2 separate regions of the Homo sapiens genome follow, and region 1 is linked to region 2. The links are contacts of gene promoters, found by promoter capture Hi-C in human tissues and cell types (Jung and others, 2019). All regions are on one chromosome and are shown on one strand. Each heading gives the region's core, a stretch centred on a gene start or on the middle of the fragment in contact. The rest is flanking DNA. Distances are from core to core; before and after follow the strand shown. Region 1 holds the start of KCNK15 (potassium two pore domain channel subfamily K member 15). Region 2 holds the start of KCNS1 (potassium voltage-gated channel modifier subfamily S member 1).

The links. The method cuts DNA at HindIII sites, captures the fragments that hold promoters and counts their contacts. A contact is called where the count stands out against the background at its distance.
Region 1: a contact is called between the fragment with the promoter of KCNK15 here and the fragment with the promoter of KCNS1 in region 2, in 1 of the 25 tissues and cell types used here (lymphoblastoid cells).

Annotation. Positions count from the first base shown.
Region 1 is chr20:44,744,381-44,750,721 of GRCh38, reverse strand. It overlaps KCNK15 (potassium two pore domain channel subfamily K member 15), which reads right to left and starts at 4,857. Exons shown (of 2, transcript NM_022358.4): 1 at 4,529-4,857; 2 at 1-593. The coding sequence starts at 4,811. It overlaps KCNK15-AS1 (KCNK15 and WISP2 antisense RNA 1), which reads left to right and starts at 4,495. Exons shown (of 5, transcript NR_132377.1): 1 at 4,495-4,757. The HindIII fragment of the contact is 14,439 bases long and covers 1-6,341 here.
Region 2 is chr20:45,099,186-45,105,162 of GRCh38, reverse strand. KCNS1 (potassium voltage-gated channel modifier subfamily S member 1) reads left to right here and starts at 4,036. Exons shown (of 4, transcript NM_001322799.2): 1 at 4,036-4,242; 2 at 5,924-5,977. The coding sequence starts at 5,927. The HindIII fragment of the contact is 6,202 bases long and covers 2,362-5,977 here.

The DNA of each region.
Region 1 (6,341 bases), core at 3,608-6,107, 360 kb after region 2:
GTGGCAGAAGACAGAGGCGGAGCCCACGGAGCGGGCCGGGCGGCGGGGCAGCCAGAGGCCACGGCTCTCGGGCGCCCCCGGGGGGCGCGGGCTGGGGGTGCGGGCAGCGCGCTCGGGCCAGTCGGCGCTGGCAACGAGGAAGCGCAGGACCACCAGGTTGAGGAAGGCGCCAATGACCGTGAGCCCCAGGAGGATGTAGAGGAAGCTGAAGGCCACGTAGGGGAGCTTCCTCTGCAGCGCCTCGCCGCTCTGCAGTGCCACGAAGTCGCCGAAGCCGATGGTGGTGAGGGTGATGAAGCAGTAGTAGTAGGCGTGGAAGAAGGTCCAGCCCTCGAAGTGCGAGAAGGCGACGGCCCCGAGGGCCAGGGTGGCGGCACACGCCAGCAGCCCGGCCACCACCAGGTTCTCCGTGGACACGCACGTCCACCGCAGGCCCAGGCAGCACTTGGCCGCCAACAGGAGGCGCCGCACCACCGCGTTCAGCCGTTCGCCCAGGCTCTGGAAAGTGACCAGCGTCAGCGGGATGCCCAGGAGCGCGTAGAACATGCAGAAGACCTTGCCGGAGTCCGTACCCGGCGCGGCGTGGCCGTACTCTATGCAGGGAGAGCGGAGGGGAGGGCTGTGAGCGCCCAGCTCCAGCTGACAACAGTCCCGCCCGCAGCCTGCCTGCCCGGCGTGTCCCTCCCCGTCCCCGGGGCTGGAAGGGCATCTCCAAATACTAGTCCTAACTAGGTCATTCATCACCCCAAACTTCAGACAACCCAAGTGTCCCTCGACTGGGGAATGGATAAACAACCTGTGGGGCATCCAAACACCAATTTTTTTCAGCAACTGAATGAACTCCTGTAACTTGCGGCAACCAAGGATGGATCTCAAATGTCTAAGCTGAGTAGAGGAAGACGAGCTCGAAAGCCTACAGACCGCATGGTTCCCTATAAATGACACTCTGGAAATGACAAAACTGTGGCAACAGAGAACAGATCTGTGGTTGCTTGCCAGTAGCTGGGGTTGGGGGCAGGCTTAACTACAGAAGGCATGGTAGAATTTTGGGGGTTGATGGCAATGTTCCGTCTTGACCGTGGCTGCAGTTACGCGGCAGGTGTTCATCTGTCAGGAGTGTACACAGGAAAATGGTGAGTTCTACTGTATGTAAATTATGCCTTGATGAAAAAAAAGCAAAACTTTCCCCACTTTCCAGCTACACCCCGAGCTGCTTCCCCAGTCAGCATGTCCTCTCCACATGCCTTTTCTCCTGACTACCTCCCCCTCCACTGCTCAGCCTGCCCGCACTGAACACCTTTTGGTTCTGATTGTCTGGCGTGGCGATTCTTACTGGGTCCCTTCAACTACTATAGGGAATCTAAACACGACTGGGCAATCTTGAGTCCTGGAACACCGCGCCATTGCAGGGGAATGAATGGGTATCTCATTGTGTGTCTTTTCCTGGAAAGAGGAGCAGTTGCTTTCATGGTATTCTCAAAGGAGCCTGTACGCCAGGAAGAGTCAGGAGGCCAAGAAGAATGCGCCTCCTCTAACAGATTGGCCCTACCTGCCAAAAAGTAAAAAATACAAATCCTTTGACCAAGGTAGTTCCACAGTTAGGAAGTTAGCCCTTCAATATACACACATGAGCAAAAATATGTGTGCACTTGGGTCGTCATTGCAGCATTGTCGGTCATAGCGAAAATGAGAAACAATGTAAGTGTCCATCCAAAGGGGCCTGGTTAAATAAATTATAGTGCCATCCAAACCATGGGATACTACAGAGTAGCAGTTCTCAATCGAGGGTGGTTTTGCCTTTGAGGGGACACTTGGCAACATCTGGAGACATTCTGGTTGTCACAAATGGGGGTGAGGAGTGGGGATGGCTGTGTGCTACTGGCATCTAGAGAGTAGAGGCCAGGGACACTGCTAAACATCTTGCAATGCACAGGACAGTCCCCACAGCCCCAAATGTCAGTAGTTCCAATGCTGAGAAACCCTACAAACAAGATGACGCAGCTCTTTAGAGACTGACATAAAAACATCAACATATATTCTATAAGTGAAAAAAGTAAGAGACAAAACTGTGTGTATAACGTCTATACAATGTGTGTGTTTTAAAGGAATATATAGGCAGAGAATATATCCAGAAGGACACACAAGAAACTGGCAACTGTATTTGACCCAGGAAGAGGAATTTATGAGCTGAGAGACAGGGTGGGAGGGAGAATTCCTTTTCATTCCATACCCTTTTGTGCCCTGTGAAGTGTGTACTGTGTGCATATATAACTTATTCAGAATATCAGCACTACATACATTTAAAGGCCTGTGGCTGCACTTCCACATTTCTGTTGCATAGCCCTATCACTTTGCCTCTCTGTTACTTTTGGGAGAAAGGGGGTCTGCTCATCACTAGACTTTGAGCTCTTTGAGGGCGGGGACGATGGTGGTGTAGTCCCCATCACCAAGGTCCTGCACAGAGCCTGACGTAGACCAGAAGCTCAATGAGAGTTTATTGAATCAAACCAAGCTGAAGGGGGTGCTGGTGAGAAACAGAAGAGTCTCTTTAGGAATAAAAGGCTTCCAGCTGTTTGGGACTGTGCCAGGTTTTGGCAGAGAGTGAAATGAATAATGATAATAACTAATAATGACAGTAACTAACCCATGTATGTACTCTGCATGGATTATCAGATTTAACCCTCCCAATGACTATATGACATGTTGTTATTCCCATTTTATAGATAAGAAAACTAGGTTCAGAGGGACAAAACTGCCCAAAGGCCACAGGCCTGAGCTATTAACCAGCACCCTCCACAGGCCTGAGCTATTAACCAGCACCCTCCATGGGCCTGAACTATTAACCAGCACCCTCCACGGGCCTGAGCTATTAACCAGCACCCTCCACAGGCCTGAGCTATTAACCAGCACCCTCCATTGCTTCAGTGCCTCTCTCCCATCCAAGCAAAGCCCAAATTCCTGGGGCCTGGCACCTGGCTCTCTGCAAGGCTGGCTTCAGCGGACTAGACCACAGAGGGTGGTGGTGCCCCCAAGTGGCCAGAAAAGGCAAAATTCCTCCTGTTTCCACTTGAGTCTCTTACATCAGCCTCCCAGACGTACCTCAGAGGTAAAGAACCAGGGTAAGAGGCCAAAACCACATGGCAAGCCTCCAAAGAATGTAGATAAAGGCAGAGAGAACAAGTTGATGGCATCCCAGACCAGTGGGCACGGTAACCAGGAGGGTCTCAGGTGTACCAAGATAGGAAGCAGGGGTGTCCATGTGGACAGGAGGGGGCAAAAGAGCTGAATAAGAGCTGGAGCCACGTTGGCAAATAATGAATTATTACAAATGAATAGTGCCTACTTGGCTTCAGGCACTGTGCCAAGCATGTTACATGCTTGACCTCACTGAAACCTGGCAGTCACCCAGTGAGGTAGGAACAATTGCATTTTGCCTTTGGGGAAACCAGGGCTTGGACAGGTGGAATCAATTGCCAGAGAAGGCAGGTGGCAATAGAGATGAGACCAGAACTCCAGTCTCTGTGATTCCAGAACTCATACTTTTAACTCCACTGCAAAAACCACAGCTCATATTCACTTGCAAGAGCATTATGGGGAAACTTTCTCCAAGGCACTGGCTTTCGGACTGGTGATCCAAGCCCCAGGGGGGGTGCCGGGACGTTCACAGCTGGAGCCTGGGGAGTGGCTGGCACCAAGCCTGGAGCCCTGCAGAGCCCACTTCTCTCCTTCCTGTTCCCCCAGGTTTAGGCTCAGCAGGTACCAGCCAGATGGTAGTCATGGCAACAGCTGGTGGTCCAGATGCTCCAAAGGAACTGCTCTGCATCCCTGAGGGCAGAGTCCAGAGCCTGTGGTTATCAGTCATTCCTTTAACAAGTATTTATTGATCATCTACTGCATGCTAGGCACGGGTCATACAGCAGTCCCTAAGACAGACTGGGTCCCCATTCTCATGGGGTAACAATAACAATTGCAATAATAAAAAAATGATCTTTTCTTTGTAGTGCTCTGTATGTGTCATGTTTTAGCACAGGCCTTGTCTGTGCATAGTCTGTCTCCTGAATAATAACTCTCACCACAGCCCTGAGATAAGGCCGATTAGCGACACTATTTTACAGAAGAGAAAACTCTGGCTCAGAGAGGTTGAGCAACTCGTCTAAGGTCACACAGCAAGTGTGAGGCAACCAGGCAAGGAAAAGCAAATCCAGCCACTTGGTCTCCCAGCCCCGCTTCACCTATCTCCAAGCCCCTTGGACGTTTTCTGAGCACTCCTGGGTCAGCCTTTTGGCAAACTCGATTTACTGATTCCTCCCGTCCCTGCCTGCGTGGGCTGACAGCTCCATTCAGCAGAGGGGGGCAAAGGAGACCAGGGAGACGAGGGAGGCGAAGGAGATGAGGGAGGCTCGGTGAGCCGAAATGACCCGTCCAAAGTAGCTCAGCTGGGCGGGGGCAGAGGTGGGACCGAAACCCAGAGGCGCCCCGGGACGGCTGGGGCTGGAGCGGGCGCGGAGGGAGGCTCCGGGCGGCTCACCGATGGTAGTGATGACGGTGATGGCGAAGTAGAAGGAGCCGGGGAACTTCCACTGGCGGCCGGCGCGGTGGGGCTCAGCCTGGAGCGCCAGGCGCTCCAGCTCGCGGTAGTCCTCGGCCGAGAAGCCGAACTTCCTCCGGAGAGCGCCCCGCTTCTGGACCAGCAGTCGCTGGCGGCCGCTTTCCGCCTCGGACTCGAGCGCGTCGAAGACAGCAGCGCCCACCAGCAGGTAACACAGGGTGCACAGGACCAGCCCGGCCGCGCGCACGCTCGGCCTCCGCATGGCGCCCCGGCCCCGGTACCCGCCGCGGTCCCAACCTGCTCCGTGTGCCCGGACCGCGCGCTCCGCCCCCTCCAACCCCGGCCCCACGCGGCAGGGTTGTGACGGGCGAGGCGGGGCGACTGCCGGGAACCTGGAGGCTGGGATCGCCACGGGTGGGGGCCGGAAGAACCGCTCCCCTGTCCGCCTCCCACTCGCCTGCCCGGGGTTCATGTGTCTGTGAATAGTGAGATCTGAAGCAAAGGCCCAAACCCCGGGCCTGCAGAAGTCCTGTTCCCGCCACTAACTCATGTTGTGACCTCGTGCCAGTCTTCCGTCCTTCCTTCCGTCCTTCCTTCCTTCCTTTTTCCCTCCCTCCCCTCCCCCCTCCCCTCCCTTCCTCCCTCCCTCCCTCCTTTCCTTCCTTCCTTCCTTTCACTCCTTTCCCCATCCCTCCCTCCCTTCTTCCCTCCCATCCTTCCTCCCTCCGTCCCTCCCTTCCTCCCTCCGTCCCTCCCTTCCTCCCTCCGTCCCTCCCTTCCTCCCTTCGTCCCTTCATCTCTTCTTCCCTTCCTTCTCTCCTTCCTTCCTTCTTTCATTCAGTCAGTCAATCCTCTGACAAATATTTACCAAGCACCTACTGGTGCAAACAACATTCCTGTTGTAAGTAAAAGTGATATCCTAGTGAGGAGGGCCAGCTAACAAACAAGAAACTAATTTAAGACAGGAGTGAGAAAGAAGGAAAAGGGATAGTTTCTTGGGGAAGGTGAACCCCACCATCTAAGGTGGTGCTTAAAACAGAACTGAGCATGACTTGGCAGCCAGAATAGCAGAGGAGCCGGTGTCGCTGGAGCCCAGAGAACTGGGGGGCAGATACTTTGGGGGAGCAGAAGGAAGGCAAAGAGGCAACTTCACACAGGGTCTTACAAGCCCTTATGTGGGTTTATTGAAAGCCATGGAAAGGCTGTATTACAAACACAGGCAAACAAACACACACGCAACACCACCACAATGATCTGATTCATATTTTTTAAAGAGCCCCTGGCTGTCATGGGGAAAAGGGATGGTGGCTAGGAGTGGAGGCCAGTTCGAAGGCTAGTGTAGTCCAAATGTGTGAAGATGGAGAGAAATGAGGGGATCCGGGATGCACCGGGGAGGTGGAGTTGGGCGCCCAGCTGGCCACATTGCCCAGCCTTTCTTGCACTTAGCAGGGTCTATGTGACCAAGCTTTAGCTCATGGAACATGGGCAGAAGTGACATATGCCACTTCCAGGCCTGGCCCATAAAACCCTGCCCTACACGTGCTCCATCTCTTTCCCCCACCAGACGGCTGAATGCAGAGAACTAAAGTCTTTAGAAGAGAGGGAGCCCACAAGGTGGGAAAAACCTGGGGCTGAATGACACATTGCAAGGTTGTCCCCCAACCCCCAATCAGGAGCCCCAGTTTTGAGCTTCTGTTGTATTAAGTCGCTGACGTATGTTAAGCCCCTGAGGCCCAGCCTGCCGCCTAGGCCCTCCAGGTCCCAGAGGAGGACATACTTCCATATGGAAGCC
Region 2 (5,977 bases), core at 2,787-5,286:
GAGCACATACATTCTCAGGTACTTCAGGTTCTCCCTGTGCGGAGCCATAGCAGGCTCTGGCAGCCTCAGGAAAGCCCCAGATACCAGCTGTCAGGAGGAAAAACATACCAGGAGCCTGTGTGCACAAAAGCGGTAAAGGATCCCAGAGGAGCTGTGGGCACGAATGAGTCACATAAGAATGGTGGAGGAGGAAGTGACAAGGAGCCTGGGTCTTCAGGGCTATTCATGAGCAGCTGTACCTACCCTGGCCTGCCAAAAAAAAAAAAAGTAAACTCTTCTCTAGTGAAGTCACTGTAATTCCGTTTCTGTTCCCGCAGCTAAGTTAAATTCTAACTGATATGCAGGGTAAAGAAAGGGCAGGAGGAGTTGTTCATGGAGAGGGAACAGCATGTGCTGGTCCTCATCTCAATCCTGAAAGGTAGGTGTTGTTCCCATTTTACAGATGAGGAAGATAAAGATCCAAGAGAAGTGCTTGGCCCAAGGTCACACACCAGTTTAGTGGCAAAGGCAGGATTCGAACCCAGTGTATTCATTATCTATTGCTGTGTAACAAGGTTTCACAAATGCAGCAGCTTAAAGCAACACACATGTATTATCTCACAGTTTCTATGGGTCAAGAACACGGGCACAGTTTAACTGGGTCTTCTGCTTCAGTTTCTCTGCTTCACGAGACTGCACTCGAGGGGTCGGCCATGGTGGGAGTCTCATCTGAGCCTCAATTAGAGAAGGATCCACTTTCAAATTCACAGGGTTGTTGGCGGAATGTCAGTTCCTTGAGGACTAATGAAGTGAATACCGCAGCTCCTGGCTGGTTGTTGGCTGGAAGTCCTCCTCATTTTCTTACCTTTCCCGCCTGGCAACTTGTTTCATCAAAGCCAGCTGGAAGTCACAACCTTAAGTAACCTAATCAGAGAAGTGACATCCCATCACTTTTGCCATATTCTGTTCATTAGAAGCAGCTCAGTAAGGCCTGTCCACACACAAGGGGAGGGGATTGCACAAGGGCATGAACACCAGGAGGCCGACATCACTGGGAGACATCTTAGAAGATGCCCGTCACATCCAGGTCTACTTAATTCCAAAATTTTCTGTATTTTCTGCAAAATCAAGCTTACTCTGAAGGTAAAACCCCATGGATTCCAATGACTAAACCTGGTCAGGGACTGAGGGAGAATTTGGGGGACAGACCATCCATGGTACATGAAGGACAGGGATGCCCCGTCCTTCCCACCCATAAGGCCCACCTTCCCACTCTTGTGGCTCACAGATTCCACCAAAACTTCATTTACCTCTCACTGTGTAATCTGGGGATGAAACCAGATCCTGGTTTCATTCTCTTCTGCCTTTGGGAAATAGGTCTGTCTTTTCTCTCAATTTTGGAAACCGTCTCTGCAGCTCCAGGGAAAACTCCTGAGTCCTGAGGGGTAGCAAAGGCTGCAGACAAACTCTTAGGCCAGGAAACAGAAGACCTGCTTCTCGGCAAATCTGCCTCAGTTTCCCTGTTGGTCAAATGAGGGAATTGGGCAAGATGCTCACTAAGCAGCTTCCTGCTCTAACTTCTTCTTTCGAGGGAAAAACTAAAGTGGCACAGCCTAGGGCTGTGCTGTCTAATATGGCAGCCACGAGCCATGTGTGGCTACCGAGCACATAAAATGTGACTAGTCCAAACTGAGATATGCTATAGATAAATCTCAAAAAATCTCTCTCAAAAAATAAAAAATAAAATAAATTAGTACACTAGATTTATATATGGGAGGCAGAATTCAGATGACCCCTCCTCAATGATCCTCATCCCTGTATAATCTCCTCCTCTTTAAGTGTAGGTGGAACCCGTGAATGTATATTATATGGCAGAAGGGAGAGTGCCCTGGGTGGGCCTGGACTAATCAGGTGAGAGTTTTAAAGCCAGAGATTTTTCTCTGGCTGGTTACAGGAGAGGAATTCAGCACTCTGATGTCCCTGAAAGAAAGCAAGCATTCATGCTATGAACTGCCTATGGGGCAGCTTCTAGAATCTGAGATTGATCCCTCGGAGACAGCTAACAGGAAAAGAGAGACCTCAGTCCTATAACCACAAGGAAATGAATTCTGCCAACAATCTGTGAGCTTGGAAGAAAACTCTGAAGCTCACATGAGAACCTCAACCCTGGCCAACACCTTGGCTTCAACCTGGTGAGACCCTGAGGGTCCAGCCAGGCCATGCCCAGACTTCTGACCTACAGAAACCATGAGATCATAAATTTGTATTGTTTTAAGCTACTAAATTGTGGTAATTTGTTATGTAGCAATAAGAAAAATTAGTACTGGATTTTAGAGACTTAGTACAAAAAAAAGAAAATGTAAAATATCTCAATAATTTCTTTACTGATTCCAATGTTGAAATCATAATATTTTAGATTTAATAAAATATATCACTAAAAATACAGTTGATCCTGAAACAACACGAGTTTGAACTGCTAGTGTCCACTTACATGCAGATTTTTTTCCAATAAATACATTGGAAAATTTTTGGAGATTTGTGACAATTTGAAAAAACTTACAGATGAACCATGTAGACTAGAAATATCAAAAGCCTTAAGAATAAGTTAGATATGTCGTGAATGCCTAAGATATATGTAGATACTATTTATGTGTCAATCGACTGTTTATATTATTGGTAAGGTTTCTGGCGAACAGTAAGTTATTACTAGTTAAGTTTCAGGGGAGTCAAAAGTTATATTCTAATTTTCTAGGCATGGAGGAGTGGTTTCCCTAACCCCCACTGTTTAAGGGGTAACTGTAATTTCGCCTGTTTTTTACTTCTTTAAAATGTTGCAATCAGAAATGTAAAAGGACATATGTGGGCCGGACGCGGTGGCTCATGCCTGTAATCTCAGCATTTTGTGAGGCCAAGGCAGGTGGATCATTTGAGGCCAGGAGTTCAAGACCAGCCTGGCCAACATGGTGAAACCCCTTCTGTACTAAAAATACAAAAATTAGCTGGGCATGGTGGTGCATGCCTGTAATCCCAGCTACTCAGGAGGCTGAGGCAGGAGAATCGCTTGAACCCAGGAGGCGGAGGTTGCAGTGAGCCAAGATTGTGCCACTGCACTCCAGCCTGCAACAGAGTGAGTGAGACTCTATCTCAAAAAATCAAAAATAAAATAAAATAAAATTATATATGTGGCTCACATTATAGGTGTTGGACTGTGCTGGCCTAGAGGACTCAGAAGTCAGCCATGGGACCTCCGGCAAGTCACCACACCTCTCAAAGCAGTTCTTATCTGTGAGATAGGAATAATAGTAGCACTTACCCCACAGATAAATTTGCAGTTTGAGTGAGATTGAGGTCTGTGCTTGACCCAAGGTAAGTACTCAATAAACGTTGGTAATTATCATTATTATTAATAACAATATGTGCAAAGGCTCATATCCAGGCCCTAGTCTCCAGGAGCCTCTCCCCAACCAGGCACACAGCAGCCACACAACAGGTACATGTGTGGGGATTTCACAACCTCTACAAAGCTCTTTGGCACATGTTCTCTGCCCTCACAACCCACTTGGCAGGTGGGAATCAGGAACCCGTGGGCAGGTAAGGACACTGCGCCTCAGGGGTAAAATGATCGTTTCAAGCTTCACAACTCACCTAGGAAGAACCTGGGGCTCCAAGGGAGATGAGGCCACCTTCTACAGCTCCCTAACTCAGATGCCCACGGTCTGAGAAAATGACTGGAGCTCACCCCTAAAATGGGCGACATAAGATCCTGGCCCTGTCAAGTGTGTGTGCCAGGAATAACTGAGATCAATCACTTGCAGCAGCTGAAGTACCCTGGCACATACTAAACACTCAATTAAGTAAATCATGATTACTGTTGTTCCTTTGCCAGAGAAGCTTCTGCTGAAATCCCTCTCTACGGGGAATCCTCACGCCCTAAATGACCCCTCCTTCCCGGCCCGTAACTCCGGAGGATGCCCCTGCAGGTAGGCCCAGTCTCCAGACACCACCACCCCCCAGCCGAGTCAGGAATAGAAACCGCCGCCTCCGGCCGCCAGCGGCCTCACTCCCTCCTCCGGCAGCGATCGATGCGGCCTTCAGCCGCGGGGGACTAGGCAAGGAAGAAGGAAGGAGAGGGCAGCGGGGCCGCCTGCAGCAGGAGGCTCGGCGGGGCCGGCGGGGCAGAGGCGAGACCGAGTATAGCCAGCGGCTCCCAGCCTCGGTGGCTTTGGGACAGACACGCGAGGCGCCCGGGAGGTGCCACCACAGGTAAGGGGCCTCCTTTGGGGAGGGACGTGGCTCCGGGACGGTCCCGGGCAGCCAGAGTGGGAGGCGGGGCTGCCTGGGGCTCCTGGTGCTCTTACCCCCTCTAAGAGACCCCCCACCCCCCGCCAAGGAGGAAGCAGTGTGGGGTGGCCGCGCTTTGGAGACCCTGGCTGGTACAGTTTGCTCATCTGTAAAATGGGATTAGAAAACCTCCCTGGCAGGGTTGGTGTAGGGATTAAACCGAGTGAGGTGTGCATGGAGCCCAGAGGAGTGACTAGCAGATAGGAGGTGCTCAAAATAAGTGTGTGGAGAGAGAATGAAATAAAAAAACCTGGTCTCCAACCTTAGCTGTGCCATGGACTAGCTGGGTGATTTTGAACAAGTCACTTGGTCTTTCTTACTGATATTCAGGTTCTTGTCAGAAAATGTTTGTTGAATTAATTATCCTGTTTCATAGAGCAGGAAAGTGAGCTCCTGATGGATGAAGGGATTTGCCCAATATTATGCTTCTAATGGGTGATGGAACTGGATTAGAAATTTCATTTTTTGATGCCAAATGCAGGTGGAGATCCAAGTGGAGGTGGGAGCGGAGCTACATCACACGTTTATTGTGCATTGATTATGTGCCAGGGACCATGCTGCCGATAAACACCTTGCATCATTTAATTCTCTGAGCCTCTCCTGGAAAGTATGATGCTACCCGGTTCCACAGACAGGGAAACAAGCCCAGAGAGGGCGACGAATGCACTCAAGGACAGCAGCTAGTAAGTGGTAGACTCAGGTCTGACCACAGGGAAGTACACAGGATTAACATTTATTGAGCATCTACTGTTTTCCCAGGGCTTTGACATATACCACAATAATGATGCATCCAAAGCAACATTATCCCCATTCTAGAGGTAAAAGAGCTAAAGCCCAGAGTGGGAAGGAGACTGGCCTGAGGTCACACAAGTGATAGAGCTAAGGGTGGAACCCCAAATCCATTTAATGCCAAGCCCAGGTGCTTTACACACACTTAATCCCTAGTCTAGGCATTACTGAACCCACAGTGCAAATGAGATTGCCAGTGGTGAGGAGGTGTCACTAGCCCCCAATTCCAGCAGAGTCAGGAGTCAGTGGGTAGTGGAAGAACCTAAATCCTTCCTGAGTATCCACTAAGGCTGAGCACTTTCTATAATCTACCTTAATCCTCCAGTCATCCCTGGAGGTAGGTGCTATTATCTACGTTGTGCAGGAAATTGAGACCTGGAGGACAAATAGCTTCCTCAAGGCCCCAGGTGCGTCAGGGGTGGAGATAAACCCAGGTTTGCCTGACTCCAGAAGATAGTGACACCAGTGAATAATTTATTAAATTCCTTCTGTGAGCCAAGCCCAAGAAAGACACTAGGTCATTTAATCTTCATAACCACACTTTGAGGTGAATATTTTTATTTCCATTTCACAGAGGCTCAGAGAGGTGATGTTACTTGCCTAAGGTGACACAAGAGAGTCAAGATTCAAGGTCAGGTCTGGCTGACTCTACAGATGCTTTACATAATCTAAAGCAGGAGCTCTCAAACTTGACTATGTAGCCGAATCACTTTCCAATCTTGTTAGAACACAAAGTGCTAGACCCCACCCTTAGAGTTCCCGATTCAGTAAATCGATGGCAGGCTGAGAATTTGCATCTTTGACAAATTCCCAGGTGATGCTGATGCTGCTGGTCCGGGGAACACACTATGAGAACCTCCGGTCTAAA